Linked DNA regions of Homo sapiens: region 1 is linked to region 2. The links are contacts of gene promoters, found by promoter capture Hi-C in human tissues and cell types (Jung and others, 2019). All regions are on one chromosome and are shown on one strand. Each heading gives the region's core, a stretch centred on a gene start or on the middle of the fragment in contact. The rest is flanking DNA. Distances are from core to core; before and after follow the strand shown.

What was found. The method cuts DNA at HindIII sites, captures the fragments that hold promoters and counts their contacts. A contact is called where the count stands out against the background at its distance.
Region 1: a contact is called between a fragment that was not itself captured here and the fragment with the promoter of TWIST1 in region 2, in 1 of the 25 tissues and cell types used here (mesendoderm cells).

Annotation. Positions count from the first base shown.
Region 1 is chr7:19,296,618-19,303,776 of GRCh38, forward strand. LOC107986773 (a long non-coding RNA gene) reads left to right here and starts at 3,107. Exons shown (of 3, transcript XR_001745109.2): 1 at 3,107-4,062. The HindIII fragment of the contact is 4,820 bases long and covers 2,347-7,159 here.
Region 2 is chr7:19,112,838-19,119,578 of GRCh38, forward strand. It overlaps TWIST1 (twist family bHLH transcription factor 1), which reads right to left and starts at 4,799. Exons shown (of 2, transcript NM_000474.4): 1 at 3,834-4,799; 2 at 2,631-3,294. The coding sequence starts at 4,484. The coding sequence ends at 3,876. LOC124901597 (a long non-coding RNA gene) reads left to right here. Exons shown (of 3, transcript XR_007060241.1): 3 at 1-408. RefSeq lists enhancers at 3,806-4,065, 4,089-4,872, 5,946-6,741. The HindIII fragment of the contact is 7,370 bases long and covers 760-6,741 here.

The DNA of each region.
Region 1 (7,159 bases), core at 3,507-6,006, 180 kb after region 2:
TGTGTTTGGTTGCTGAGATGAGATCCAGGGGGCCTGTGGGGTGCAGGCGTTGGGGGTTGGTGAGCCATGGCCAAGATTGCAGTGGGCCATCAGGCTTGGGGACCGATGGAGACCCAGCAGAGACTTGGCTATGAAACCTGTGATAACTGTGGGGAAAGTCAGCAAAGGACAGATGGTGGATGTGCCAGGGGAATCCCCTTCACCCAAGCAATGGGCAATGAGCTAATCAGCTGTGGAGTTTAGAAACAGTTTAGAGATAGATGCCAGCAGGTGCCCAGGAATTAGGTGGATGGGGATCATTATGCTAGAAACAAATGGATACAGCCAGTAAACATGTGGAGGTCTGTTTAAAATAAGAATTGGGATAGGGATTGTCAGATAAGAAGCAGTATTACCTAAAGAGACTATTTGCATAAGTGTACCAGGCTGAGTTTTAAACTGGATAAAGTTAAAGTTTTAATTTTTCCCTCCACTAACCAGTAGGTGATGGCTCAAGAAGAAAATTAGCTTATTTATAAGTTTAAAAGAAGAGCTACATTTTTTTTAGCATGTTTGAGTACATTGACCCATCTATACTTTCAGCAAAGCTCTGGACTCATTATTAAAATTTCTGGTTGTCTATTGAGAAGCATCACTACACCTGTGTCATGTGATGTCATATCAAAACTTTTATTATACTCAGAAAGTGGCAGTAAAACCTTTACTCCTTATGCTTAAAAAAATCAAAATTATTTCTTAGTTCTTTGCCAATGCTAGAAGTCATAAACTAATGCTCTACCGGTCACAACATGCTGTACATATGTTTTACTTGACCCAAGCAGTGTTTTTAAAAATAAAGATAATCATTGCAGCACTATTCACAATAGCCAAGACATGGATTTCAACCTAAATGTTCATTAATGGTAGACTAAATAAAGAAAATGTGGTACATGTACTCCACAGAATACTATGCAGCAATAAAAAGAATGGATCATGCCCTTTGAAAGAACTTGGATAGAACTGGAGGCCATTATCCTTAGCAAACTAATGCAGGAACAGAAAACCAAATACTGCATGTTCTCACTTATAAATGGGAGCTACATGATGGGAACACATAGACACAAAGGGGTAAACAACAGACACCGGGGCCTACCTGAGGGTAGAGAGTGGGAGGAGGGAGAGGGGCAGAAAAAATAACTATTGGGTACTAAGCTTAGTACCTGGGTCATGACATAATCTGCACAACAAACCCTTGTGACAAAAGTTTACCTACATAACAAACCTGCATATGTACCCTGAACCTAAAATTAAAGTTAAGAAAAATGTACTGCACATTGCAGAATTGCTAAGAGAATAAATTTCAAATGTTCTCACCACAAAAGATGTTAAATATTTGGGTTGGTGCATATATTAATTAGCTAGATTCAATGATTACACATTGTATTCATAAATCATAACATCACTTTGTACCCCATAAATATATACAATTATAAATTGTCAATTTACAATAAAAATGTTCAAACTTAATGCCATAAAAATATGACAAAAAGATTCATACCAACAAATTTCACAAAAAAGAATTAGAATATTTTACAAAATCATGGATTTCTGGTTACTGTTGATGGTATCTGGAGGTCTGGCGTCACTGTGCCTGCATTTCTAAACATCACTGATTGCTAGAGCTGAGTATTGGCTGTCCATTTCCTCTGAGTGATAGTGTTTCACTTTGCCACTGTTCCTATTATTGCCTCTACCAGGCATGCTTCACCTATACCTCTAACTCCCTGGCATTCTTTGACGTTGGATATGTGACTTGTATATCCAAAGGATAAATTTCTTCTTTAATCCTATACCCAGCCCCTGACAATGCCCACTGAACCTATATTTTTAGCTTCGTCTCTCTGTCTCTCTCTATAAGTTCTCTACTCTTCAAACACAGCAGAGAACTCTTCATTTGTGTTTGCCTGATCGCATTATTTTCTTTCCTTATGATGTTTGAGGTCCCCCTGCCTCTTTTTAGTCTAATCAAACCTTCCAAATAAAAGAGTTAAGTCAAAGCAAGACAACAGACACTTTCTTAAATGCCACTGTGTGGGAGCCATTGTGTTGGACATTGCTGGAATCCGTTCCCATGAGGAGATTACAATATTTTGGGGATATAACACATAAACATTAAATTAAACATATAGTGCATTGGATAACAGATCACGAGAGTGACAGAATGGTGTAATGAGGCAGTATAACCAATGGCACCATGAAAACCTTCATGAGTTGCCCACATCATCTGCATTTCCTTTAAGCAGAGACTCTAAATCCTGGTTTTTGTCATGGAAGAGCAGCTTTATTTCAAGGTCTCACTAAAATCTCAATGTTAAAAATATATGCATTTAAATTTTAAAAATCTAAGAACACAATGTACATCTCAATTTCATGTATACATATGCACATAAAGAATACATAATGCACATTTACTACAAGTTAATGAAGATTAAAAGCATGCATCTGTAGTTCATGTTTCTTCCAATTTCTTGGTCAGTGGTTCTTCAAAGTTTTGCAATTTTAAACTTAATACTATGAAAACATTTATAGTTGTTTTCTATTAGTTCATCTAAGTAAGAACACGGTATTTTTCTCACTATATTAGAATTTCCCCAGAAGAATTTATTGCCATGAAAAAATATGTTCTAGGAAACAAGAGAAATTGTTTTTTTCTCATTTCTGTCACTGTCAGGACTTGCCTCTCCATGCTTAGACCTAGCAGAGAAATCCTGAAGATATCCTGCTGGTAAGTAAGTTAACTGTTAAATAAGGCTCTAGGGTTAAAGGTTAACAGGCATGCATTCAGCAACAACTTTTTATAATAAACATGCATCACACCAATTAACCTAAACACCCTATTATATTAATCATATTTGATTGATTTTATTTCAATTTTCAGCATTCCCACCTAAGTAAATTGCTGTTTCCCTAATATTCCTGGGAGTCAGTCATTATTATCATGTTAAAATTAGTTCCTCTATTGGTCATATTGACATCAGGCATTTAAATGATTATTTAATATAATAAATAAGGTCTAAATGGAGTTTTGCTTAAACTGAATTAATGCTGCTGCCTCTTTCTTTTTATTGATTTTCATGAATTATTTTAGTTGGTCAAAATAAAATAGCGTATAGCTAAAGATTATTGAACTAGAATATATATGGCAATTCATTTATCTCAACCAACTCGGTGATTAATTAATGTAGGTTAATTAATTAACCTTGCTGTATGGCATCCTGTGGGGTTAATGCTAACCATCCATCTATATACTTCTGCCATTGCTGAGGCAAAGGAGTAAGGCATCACTAGGAACTGGAAGATTTACAATCTTCCACAGTCATACCTACATATGGCATAGCAAAAATTATACACGTTCCTATTTGAATAGACCATTATTCCCAGCTTTAAAATAGTAGAAAAGAGGCAGAGAGAGGCGACAATGCTCCCTCCCTTTCCATAGCTTTCCCAGGTCACTACTGAAAGCTTATCAGGCCTTGGTTTAATAATCTCTGTTCCTTGGCAGTCTGCTACTTAGCAACTAAATCATTCTCCCTTTCCCCATTTGTTCTACTCACCTTGCAACCTAAAAGATGAAAAATATTTATCCCAGATGTGTAAATTAAATACGCAGGCATTCAAATTCAGTAGATTTTCATACATTAAGGGATGTCAGGAATGTAGCTAAATGCTAATGTTATCTAGGGTATCTCTGATGAAATGGGATTTAAGTGTGCTTGAGTAGCAAAACTTTATCAGATAGAATGGGATATTTTTACCAAAATAATTTATTTAATGATCTGTGCTTTCCAAATTTATAAGCAAGTATTTTTCCTTAGTAAAAAGAGTGGAGGGGTTCTTAGGGCTCCTTTTTAGTGAACAACCGACCGAAAGGATAATTCTGTAATAATTTCTTTTTTTTGAGATTGAGTTTCACCCTTGTTGACCAGGCTGGAGTGGAATGGATGATCTCGGCTCACTGCAACCTCTGCCTCCCGGGTTCAGGCAACTCTCCGGCCTCAACCTCCTGAGTAGCTGGGATTACAGGTATGCGCCTCCATACCTGGCTAATTTTGTATTTTTAGTAGAGATGGGATTTCTCCATGTTGGTCAGGCTGGTCTCAAACTCCCAACTTCAGGTGATCCACCTGCCTCGGCCACCCAAAGTGCTGGGATCACAGGTGTGAACCACCACGCCCGGCCAATTCTGTAATTCTTAAAAGCTGGTGTGTAGAATGGGAACATAGTGGGGTTTTCATTACAATAGTTTAACTTTCCCCATATTAGGAATATGTGTATGGGTTCTATTTTATTCATATAAACCTTTATTGTTTAAAAAACACAAAGAAATAAAGATTGAAAGAACATTTTATATTCACGTGTATACTCATTGCAATTTTCATCTTTTTTCAACTTCAATGTTTTTAAACTTTAAAGTTTCTCTAAACATTTGCTTGAGCAAAGAAGAATCTGCACTTTAGATATAATTACCAAAAAATGCATAATTAGAAGGAAACACTCAAATGCACAAACACATAAGTCGAGTAAAAAAATACACTGCTGATAAAGCTTTCTTATCTAAATATTTGTTAACGGTTTTGCCAGAACAACAATTACCACAAAACACACACACACACACACACAATGGAATAAGCTTTAATTTAGGACCACAGATTGTGTAAAGCAAGCTCAGATAATTACAAATTAGGCAAAATTGTGGTTAGCTTAATGAAAAGGCTCAAAAGTGTGCCAGGCCAATGGCAAAGGACCTAAATCTAAAGACAGACAAGCTTTTCTTGATTACAGTGATTACATCATGGTCATTAGAATTTAAAGTAACTAACCCAAACACAGACATCATATCTTCATTTGATAGCTGCAGTCTAGTAAATAGTGGGAAAGGATGTTATGTATGGATTAAGCTTGATGAAATGAAAACAGACATTCTTTTTGAACCTGTCTGGCAAAGAAAATAAAAACTTCAGAATCAGTCAGTAAAGTTAGCTTTTAAAGTTCAGTCTCTTTGATTGGAAGGGGTCTGCGTAGTGTTTTTGGCTATTCTTTGTTTTATAGAGAAGCCACTACAACAACTAGCTATGCATGACTCTTTCAGCATGCAGTCTCTAGTCGAGTCAGATGTTAGAGACCAACTTCTTGATACTTAGGCCAATCAGGAATTTTAAATTTTCAAAGCATGATGAGGTGCTAGCAATGGTTCAATATTTATTTTCTCATCAACTGTAATACAATTAAACCTTGTGTGAGTCTTAAGTCTCCAAATGTTGATCCTCAAACAGTCTGCAGGATCCTATCCTGCTCTGCATGTAGCAATTCATGCTGAGAAGACAAATGCTTTGCTCAGGGGAAAGAGATGCATTGGGTTACAGTTAGAGCTACATACATGAAAGCGAGCCCACTGGCCCCTGACCCTGAACCCCTACTTCACAGCATTACCTGTGGGAACACTGCCTGAAGAGCAGTATTTAGGAAGATCAGGGAAGGGAGGCAAAAAAAAAAAAAAAAAAAAAAAAGGTGGAGGTACTAGAGAAAAATAACAGCATCGAAACAGCATGTTGGAGTTTTTCTGTTTTACCTGTCTTATGGATAGAAGATCCCAGCTTGTTTTAAGAAAACACAGCCATTATTTCCTTTCTTGTGTTTTTGGATTCTGCACTAAGAAAATGAAGACATGGAAGCAGTGGACTAATACATTGACATTATATAACCTTAAGAAACAATGACATTGTATAACCTTAAGAAAAAAGTCTGAACTTTATTTATTTATTTATTTATTTATTTATTTTTATTTTTTTGAGATGGAGTCTTGCTCTGTCACCCAGGCTGCAGTGCAGTGGCTAGATGTCAGCTCACTGCAGCCTCCACCTCCCGGGTTCAAGCAATTCTGCTGCCGCAGCCTCCCGAGTAGCTGTACTACAGGCTTGCACCACCATACGTGGCTAATTTTTGTACTTTTAGTAGAGACAGGGTTTCACCATGTTGGCCAGGATGGTCTTGATCTCCTGACCTCGTGATCCACCTGCCTCAGCCTCCCAAAGTCCTGGGATTACAGGCATGAGCTACCGCGCCAGGCCAGTCTGAACCTTAGTAAGACATTCAGTGTGAGTGAATACAAGAACACTCATGTTGCAACTTCAGCATTATCATCATCAAACAGCATTTATTGAGTGTCTGGACTCACTGAGCATCCTTGAACCTACTAAGTTTAAAGTACTTAAGAAAGAAACTAAATCTCATGGTAAACACAACTCAACCAACATGAACTGATATCAGCCCCTTACATTGCGCCTTAAAGAAACCAGATTGTTTAAAGAAAAACTGTGTAGAGACTACATGTAAATCTTGTATGCTTTATCACTCTGGTAAATAAGTGGTTTCATTTTCTACTTTACTGATGTTTCAAAATGGTCAGAGGAACTCATAAAAGTTTCACAGCAATTCTCAGATAAGGTTTTATCATCAAAGACAACAAACTATAGATAAAAATTAATCTTCCAAAATGCATTTTCTTGGGTCATGTTTTCTGGAAATAAAAGTCAATGAAACTTGTAAAGTTTTACTTTGTGTGTTTTCCATGTATCTGCCACAGCCATTGCCATGAAATTTTCCTCCCAGCTGAGAAAATGTGCAAATACAATTGTATTGCTCGGGAACTTTTAAATCTATTAATATACTACAAACCTGAAACCCTAGCCTGCTCAGTTAGAAGCCAGAGAGGTGGTCATGCACAGAAGTCCCAGGAAGCAAATGTGTGTGTTCGACTTCTTTCAGGACATCATATCCCAACTGATTCTGATTTAATTGCTTGGGTAGGGACCAGGCAGAAGCATCTTATACAATCTCCCTAGGTGAATCTGATATTCACTGTGATCTGGTTTGGATTCTTTTACCTATTTCTAGCCATTAAAGCGATGTTACCAATACGTTAGTGACTGGATTTTTCAAGCAGGATAGAAATCACAATGATGATTCCACTAAGAGATAAGCTCCTGGATATCTACAAACTCTGATCACTCTCATTTCTCCTGTTAATCCCTACAGCCATGCCATGGGAGATAAGAGAGAAACAAGCTCTAAATTATATTGAATTGATTGTATAGAGCTTCTTAGACGCTAGCATTTTTCA
Region 2 (6,741 bases), core at 3,549-6,048:
ATATGCCTGAGAAGAACTTGATACCGGTCTAGAGAAAATAACCAGTTCTGACTTTGCCAAACCATGGAATGTGCAAAATGCTCTACTTTTTTGCAAGAGGCCAAATGTCCCTTAAAAAGCTCCATTATGAATATGAACCTTAAGACCGAAGGGTCAAGAAGCTTGTGCCGTTGTTGAGTGTGGGAAAAAATTTACACACATCGTGCAAGTTTCTGCTCCTTAACATTATTTTATTAATAATACGTTCCACTTTGGGGAGGGGAACCTGTAACTGTGCGTGAATTATCATCTGGACATGTGCTTCTGTGAACAAAAGGGGAAATGTGCATATGGGTAAAAAAATTACTGCTTTCTTATAACTAAAGGCTATCAATCTGACCAACTTATAAATAAAAGTAATCAATAGCACAGTAAAGGAAACATTAAATTTTCTACAATTTACCCAAGACAATTTAATACAATACTTTCCCCTAGCAAATGCATTCTGAAGGAAAAAGATCCCAAGTGAACCAACACATTAATTGGAAAGCCTTAGCTTCTTATTTCCGAAAACAAGAGGTAATTCATTCTATGTGTTCTTTAAATAAGGGTAGGTAGCAAAAATAAAATGAAATAACATAAAATCAAAAGAAGATATAATGGTGGAGGAAAAGAAACAGGTGGCTTCATTTCTATTCTAAAAAAGAATTTCACGATTTATGTCTTGTGTATACAGGGGTAGGGATTAGAATCTGCAAGCTGGAAACTGCATTCCAGTAGTTAATATTTTTCATTGTGCAGTCGCCTCATTCAAAATAAAATTACCACCTTTTTCATTCATTTATTTCTCTGAAAATCTGGGGGGAAACATTACCTTCAGATTAGTATTTAATATTACTATAAATATGGCATTTGCTTTTCTCCAAAGTGTTTCCCCTTATGAAAAAAGTAGAAAAAGCAAAACACATTAAAAAAAGAAAGAAATAAAAGAAAGGCAAATGGAGAGCTACCTTTCTTTGACACATCTAGTTCTTATATCCAGAGTTAAGATAACAATTACCTTCTCAGCAGTCATGGCCAGCTCCATCCTGGTGTACCTTAAGAAATCTGAAATATCAAATAGTCAGACCAAGCTAGTGAACAAGGAGACTCCCCATGAATAATTTAGAAAATGGAGGTGGTTGGATGATACATACAAAAAAGAATTACCAACCTAATGCTTTCCCTCATCCTCCTAGGGCACCCTCCTTACATTTCTAACCTGCCTTACACACAACACACACACACCCCCAACAAATACACCAACACATAATCGCCTTCCCTTTCTGTTATTTGCTAAAGGACTATCAAAATAAAAAAATAATAATACTTCTCCAAGCTTTCACTAACCTTTTAATACAAGTCAATGCTGCAGACTCCTTATTGTAAAATATAGTCTGAAATATTAACAATAAATTCATAATATTCTTATGTCAGCATTCTATGGTGCTGTGTGAAGAAGAAAACAAAAACCTTCAGGCAATAAAATAACTTTGACCTGAGCTAAGCAAAAACGATCTGTTTGGATACATACACTTATTAGTCATTGTTTGAAACAGGCACCAAAATGATTTTCCAGTTTGAAAGCTTCCCCAGTTACACTTGGATGCAGTAAATCGGATGTAAAAGCTAAGAACTGATACAAAATCACTATTTCTAATAATGTTAATTATAAAAGCCAGTATGTTCCTGGCCCACAAATAATCAGAATGAAATAAAAAATCAAACACCCCCGTTTGCCCATTATTGTTTTACTTAACTTCAGATTGTGTGTGTGTGTATGTATGATCTCACCAGGGAAAAATTCTGTGTAATTCTGGATAAAATATAACGCTAATGAACTGACTAGTAACTGCATAGCTGTAGTATTTAAAACTGTGATTATTCCAACTGTGATTATATCCAGTTACCAAGGATACTGAAAGTTCAGGATCTTCATTTTTGTATATTATTCCACAGCCTTATATTCTTTACACATAAAAAAAGAATGATGCTTCCCAAATAGCGTCAATATAGCGATATATTAACTTTTCTTTTTAGCAAACATGACACTAAACGTCATATTCATTCATGAGAGAAGAGTTAAGCAAATTACAAATGGAATTTTCTCTTTTCTGCTGATTTACACTTTATTTTCTATGCATTTCTGGTCATTTCTATATGTGTATAGATAATTTTCATAACACTATATATGTTTTCACTGAAAAGAACCTGTTATTTAGGAATCTTCACAAAGAGTGAAGAGCATGACAAAAAGTACATAATAAGAGAATAGTGCAGGTTTTATACTCCTTATTTGCATTTAACTGTTTTAACAACTATCACCTCAAAATAAAAAGGAGGTGAATAGCAAATTTGTTAAGTTTTTGCTGTTTGGAGACAGTAAGAGATGAAGAGATGCTACTAAGCCCTCTGAATACCAAACTGGAATAATAATAAAGCTGTCTTTTAAAATAACATGCTTGTGCCTGTCAGTAGCTGCTTTATTTGAGTTTTTCATTGCTTTGTTTATATTAGTGCCCCCTCCCTCCTGGGTGCCTCTAGAATTAAACAAGCAGGTATTTACCACCAACTTAATCTTTAGTTTTAAAAATATAGACCAAACTCTAAGGTTCTCTAAATTTTTTATATTTATTTATTGCAGAAAAATATACAAAGATATTTACAAAACAATCATAAAAATATGAATGCATTTAGACACCGGATCTATTTGCATTTTACCATGGGTCCTCAATAAATAAATAGAATGTTGTTTTTTGTATTTTAAGTTTTTTTTTGTTTTTCCCCTCAGAGGAAGGATGAAAAAAAGAATTAACTGACTATGGTTTTGCAGGCCAGTTTGATCCCAGTATTTTTATTTCTAAAGGTGTTCTTATAGTTCCTCTGATTGTTACCATTTTAAAATAGAGAAAGTCCATAGTGATGCCTTTCCTTTCAGTGGCTGATTGGCACGACCTCTTGAGAATGCATGCATGAAAAAAATAAAAATAAAAACATTCTTCGTCAAAAAAAAAAAAAAAAAAAACACAAACAACTGTTCAGACTTCTATCAGAATGCAGAGGTGTGAGGATGGTGCCGCTGCCCGTCTGGGAATCACTGTCCACGGGCCTGTCTCGCTTTCTCTTTTAAAAGTGCGCCCCACGCCCTGTTTCTTTGAATTTGGATTTTGCTCTTCTAATTTCCAAGAAAATCTTTGGCATATATTTTTATTTTTAGTTATCCAGCTCCAGAGTCTCTAGACTGTCCATTTTCTCCTTCTCTGGAAACAATGACATCTGCAAAAACCCAGAGGGGGGGGGGGGAGTCGGTTATTGTTTAGGTCTCTGCGGCTGTTTTCTAAGACTAGTGAGCACTGTTCTTATCACCACCACTGAGAAATTAAGCTGAACAACCTGGAAGGATTTCAGCCCAAGGGCAAGAGGAAGTGGGTGGGTGGAAAGGAGGAGGAGGTGGAATTTGTTTTAAAACATTTGTTTTAAGGAGAACAAAAATTGAAAGCCGAAAGAAAGGGTGGCGCTGACAAAACGGTCCTTACCCGTGACCCTGGGTGTCTCTGTCTCCCCTCCTGTCACGCACACTCACGCGCACACACACCCCTCACCAGGGCGCATCCCCCTGGAGACTGCTCTCCCTAGCGGGGTCAGACCGGCCTTCCGGGGACGCTGGGGGCGCGAGGCAACGGTGCCAAGTGAGGTGGGAAGGCTGAGCGGAGAGTGGGAGAGGGGAGGAAATCGAGGTGGACTGGGAACCGCGGCCTGGCCGGCCTGCCGTCTGCCACCTGAGAGGCGAAGGGGTGCAGCGGCGCGGTCCTTACCTAGGTCTCCGGCCCTGCTGAGGGGGTGGGGGGCTCCGCCTGCTAGTGGGACGCGGACATGGACCAGGCCCCCTCCATCCTCCAGACCGAGAAGGCGTAGCTGAGCCGCTCGTGAGCCACATAGCTGCAGCTTGCCATCTTGGAGTCCAGCTCGTCGCTCTGGAGGACCTGGTAGAGGAAGTCGATGTACCTGGCCGCCAGCTTGAGGGTCTGAATCTTGCTCAGCTTGTCCGAGGGCAGCGTGGGGATGATCTTCCGCAGCGCGGCGAACGCCTCGTTCAGCGACTGGGTGCGCTGGCGCTCCCGCACGTTGGCCATGACCCGCTGCGTCTGCAGCTCCTCGTAAGACTGCGGACTCCCGCCGCCGCTGCTGCTGCCGCCGCCGCCGCCCGCGCCGCCGCCGCCGCCACAGCCCGCAGACTTCTTGCCGCGCTTGCCCTGGGCCGGGCTGCCCGGCTCGTCGCCGCCTCCGACGCCCCCACCCGCGGCTCCGCCGGGCCCCGCGCCGCCGCCCGCGCTGCGCCTGCTGCTGCGCCGCTTGCGTCCCCCGCGCTTGCCGCTCGGCGGCTGCTGCCGGTCTGGCTCTTCCTCGCTGTTGCTCAGGCTGTCGTCGGCCGGCGAGACTGGCGAGCTGGACACGTCCTGCATCATCTCTCGAGCGGCGACGCGTGGCCTCGCGGGCCCGGGGCAGAGGAGAAGAGCGGGGCGCCTCAGCCCGCCAGCTTCCCCCGCGCGCGGCGCCGGCCCGGGCGATGCGGCCCGCGGAGGAGAGAGCAGGAGGACGGACGGGAGGGACCTCCGCGGGGAGGGCGCGCGGGGGAGGCGGGGAGGGAGGCGGGAGGGGGAGGGGACGGTGTGGATGGCCCCGAGGTCCAAAAAGAAAGCGCCCAACGGCTGGACGCACACCCCGCCAGGCCTCCTGGAAACGGTGCCGGTGCTGCAGAGCCCGCGAGGTGTCTGGGAGTTGGGCGAGAGCTGCAGACTTGGAGGCTCTTATACCTCCGTGCAGGCGGAAAGTTTGGGGGCAGCAGTGTCATTGGCCTGACGTGAGGAGGAGGGACTTTTCGAAGTTTTATAGGAAAGTTTCCGCTTTCCAGTCCCCCTCCCCCGTCCCACCTCCCTTCCTCGGGGTCTAACAATTCGTCCTCCCAAACCATTCAAAAACGACCTGGCCCGGGCGGCCGGCCCCTCCACCCGCCTCCTAGCCGCCCTCCCCCTTCCCTCCCCGTCGCCTTCCTCCGGCGGGCGCGGGGCGATTTCCTTCCCCGCCGGAGCGTGCGGGCAGCGCCCCCGAACCCTAGCGCAGCCCAGGAAGCGGTCGGAGGAGACTGTCCTGGCCGCGGTGGCAGCCCCATCCGGAGTGGCTGTGACAGCAGCAATGGCAACAGCTTCTACACAGTGGGTGATGTCTCATCTCGCCCAAGAGCCCTCTAGGTCCGTGGGGCCGATTTGGGATTGCTGGGGCTGGGGGGGTGGTGTGGCGCGGGGTGGGGGGGCATGCCAAGAAAAGTGTCAACCGCGGAGCCCACCCAATGGTCAGGTAGACGAACCCCTTGGAGTTCCAAAGGCCAAACCGCGGCGGCCCAGCCCGGAGGTCCTGGGCGTTTCTGAAGACGTGGCCGCGCCGCGGGGGCTGAGGATTTGCGTCCCGGCCTGCTCTCTCGCCCTTCTGGGCCCTCCTTTCCCCTCTACAACGACCCAGTCTGACGCTCCCCAACATCCAAAGGACTACGCCTCGGAAGGTGCTCGAAAGAGGCAGAAGTTCACTCTTCGGTGGAAGGAAACCCAGTCCATGGGAAAGGCAGCAGAGCCAGAGGGGGGCAGCGCAGCGCCTTTGCTGCGGCCCTAACAGCTGGCAATGCCAACCCAAGGGAGAGACCCTGTGGCCATTTCATCCCCACCCCCAAATTAGGCTCCGCATTGTGACCTTGAAAGGCCAGCTTGTAAGAGAGTGAAGTGGGAATTTGATAGCGCCTAGACATAGGGGCTGCCCGCTCTGAGACCCCCCCCGCCCCAGCCCCCACTATCTAGGGCATCCAGTGGACAATTAGGCTTCGTGAGCCCCAATTCCAAATGCTTGGATACGCTAACATTTTAAGCATTTCTGTCTGTAAGTTAAAACGAAGAGCCCCAAAGAGGGTGTTAATGTAGATCCTGGCAAACTGGAAGCAGCAAAGTTGGTGAACCAGAAAGGAAGTCGCCTTGGATAAGAAGCCCATCTTTTGCAATGCCATACTTGTTTCCTTTTTGAAATGAATTGAGGTAAAATAACCGTTTCAGGTCCATCCCTTACATGGCAAAGTAAAAAGCTGGAGTCAGTACACAGTGTTGGGGTGGGGGCAGCGTTTGGGGGCGACGAGTTTTGTGCACCGCGCTGGAGTACCCTGCACATAAGGTCCGCTCATGGGCTTCTCAGTACGGACTCGCCGGCGGGAACAATTAATTGAGCAAAGCGCCCCTTTCTGGGCTGGAGCAAGGTTCGCGGCTGCAGATATCTCAAGCTGAAGGCAAGAGCCCAGGCGAGGCGCAGGCAGGCCACGTGGCTGTTCCCTGCTGAGACTCGCAGCTTTGGTCTTGGAAACCTCAGGGTGTGGAGCTGCTTGGGCCGACTGAAGGGTTCAGCTTTTTGGGAGAAGTGAGGGCGAGTGTTATTTCTCCAGCGAGGTGTAAACAAGACTGTGCTTTCATGGGAGGGACAAATTGCAGAGTTGATCCCTTACCATTTTTACAGAAATACTCAGAAAGTGACTACAGCTTGTCAACTGGCCTGTTTAGTGAGCCGCTGCCTTACTGTAAAATTGTCTGAAAATCAGATTCGACTTGACCTCCACTTAATTTCAGTAGCACTCTAGCAGTTCTCAAAACAGTCACCCCTGCACCCTTGCGTTTGCATCTTCCGCTACAGGAT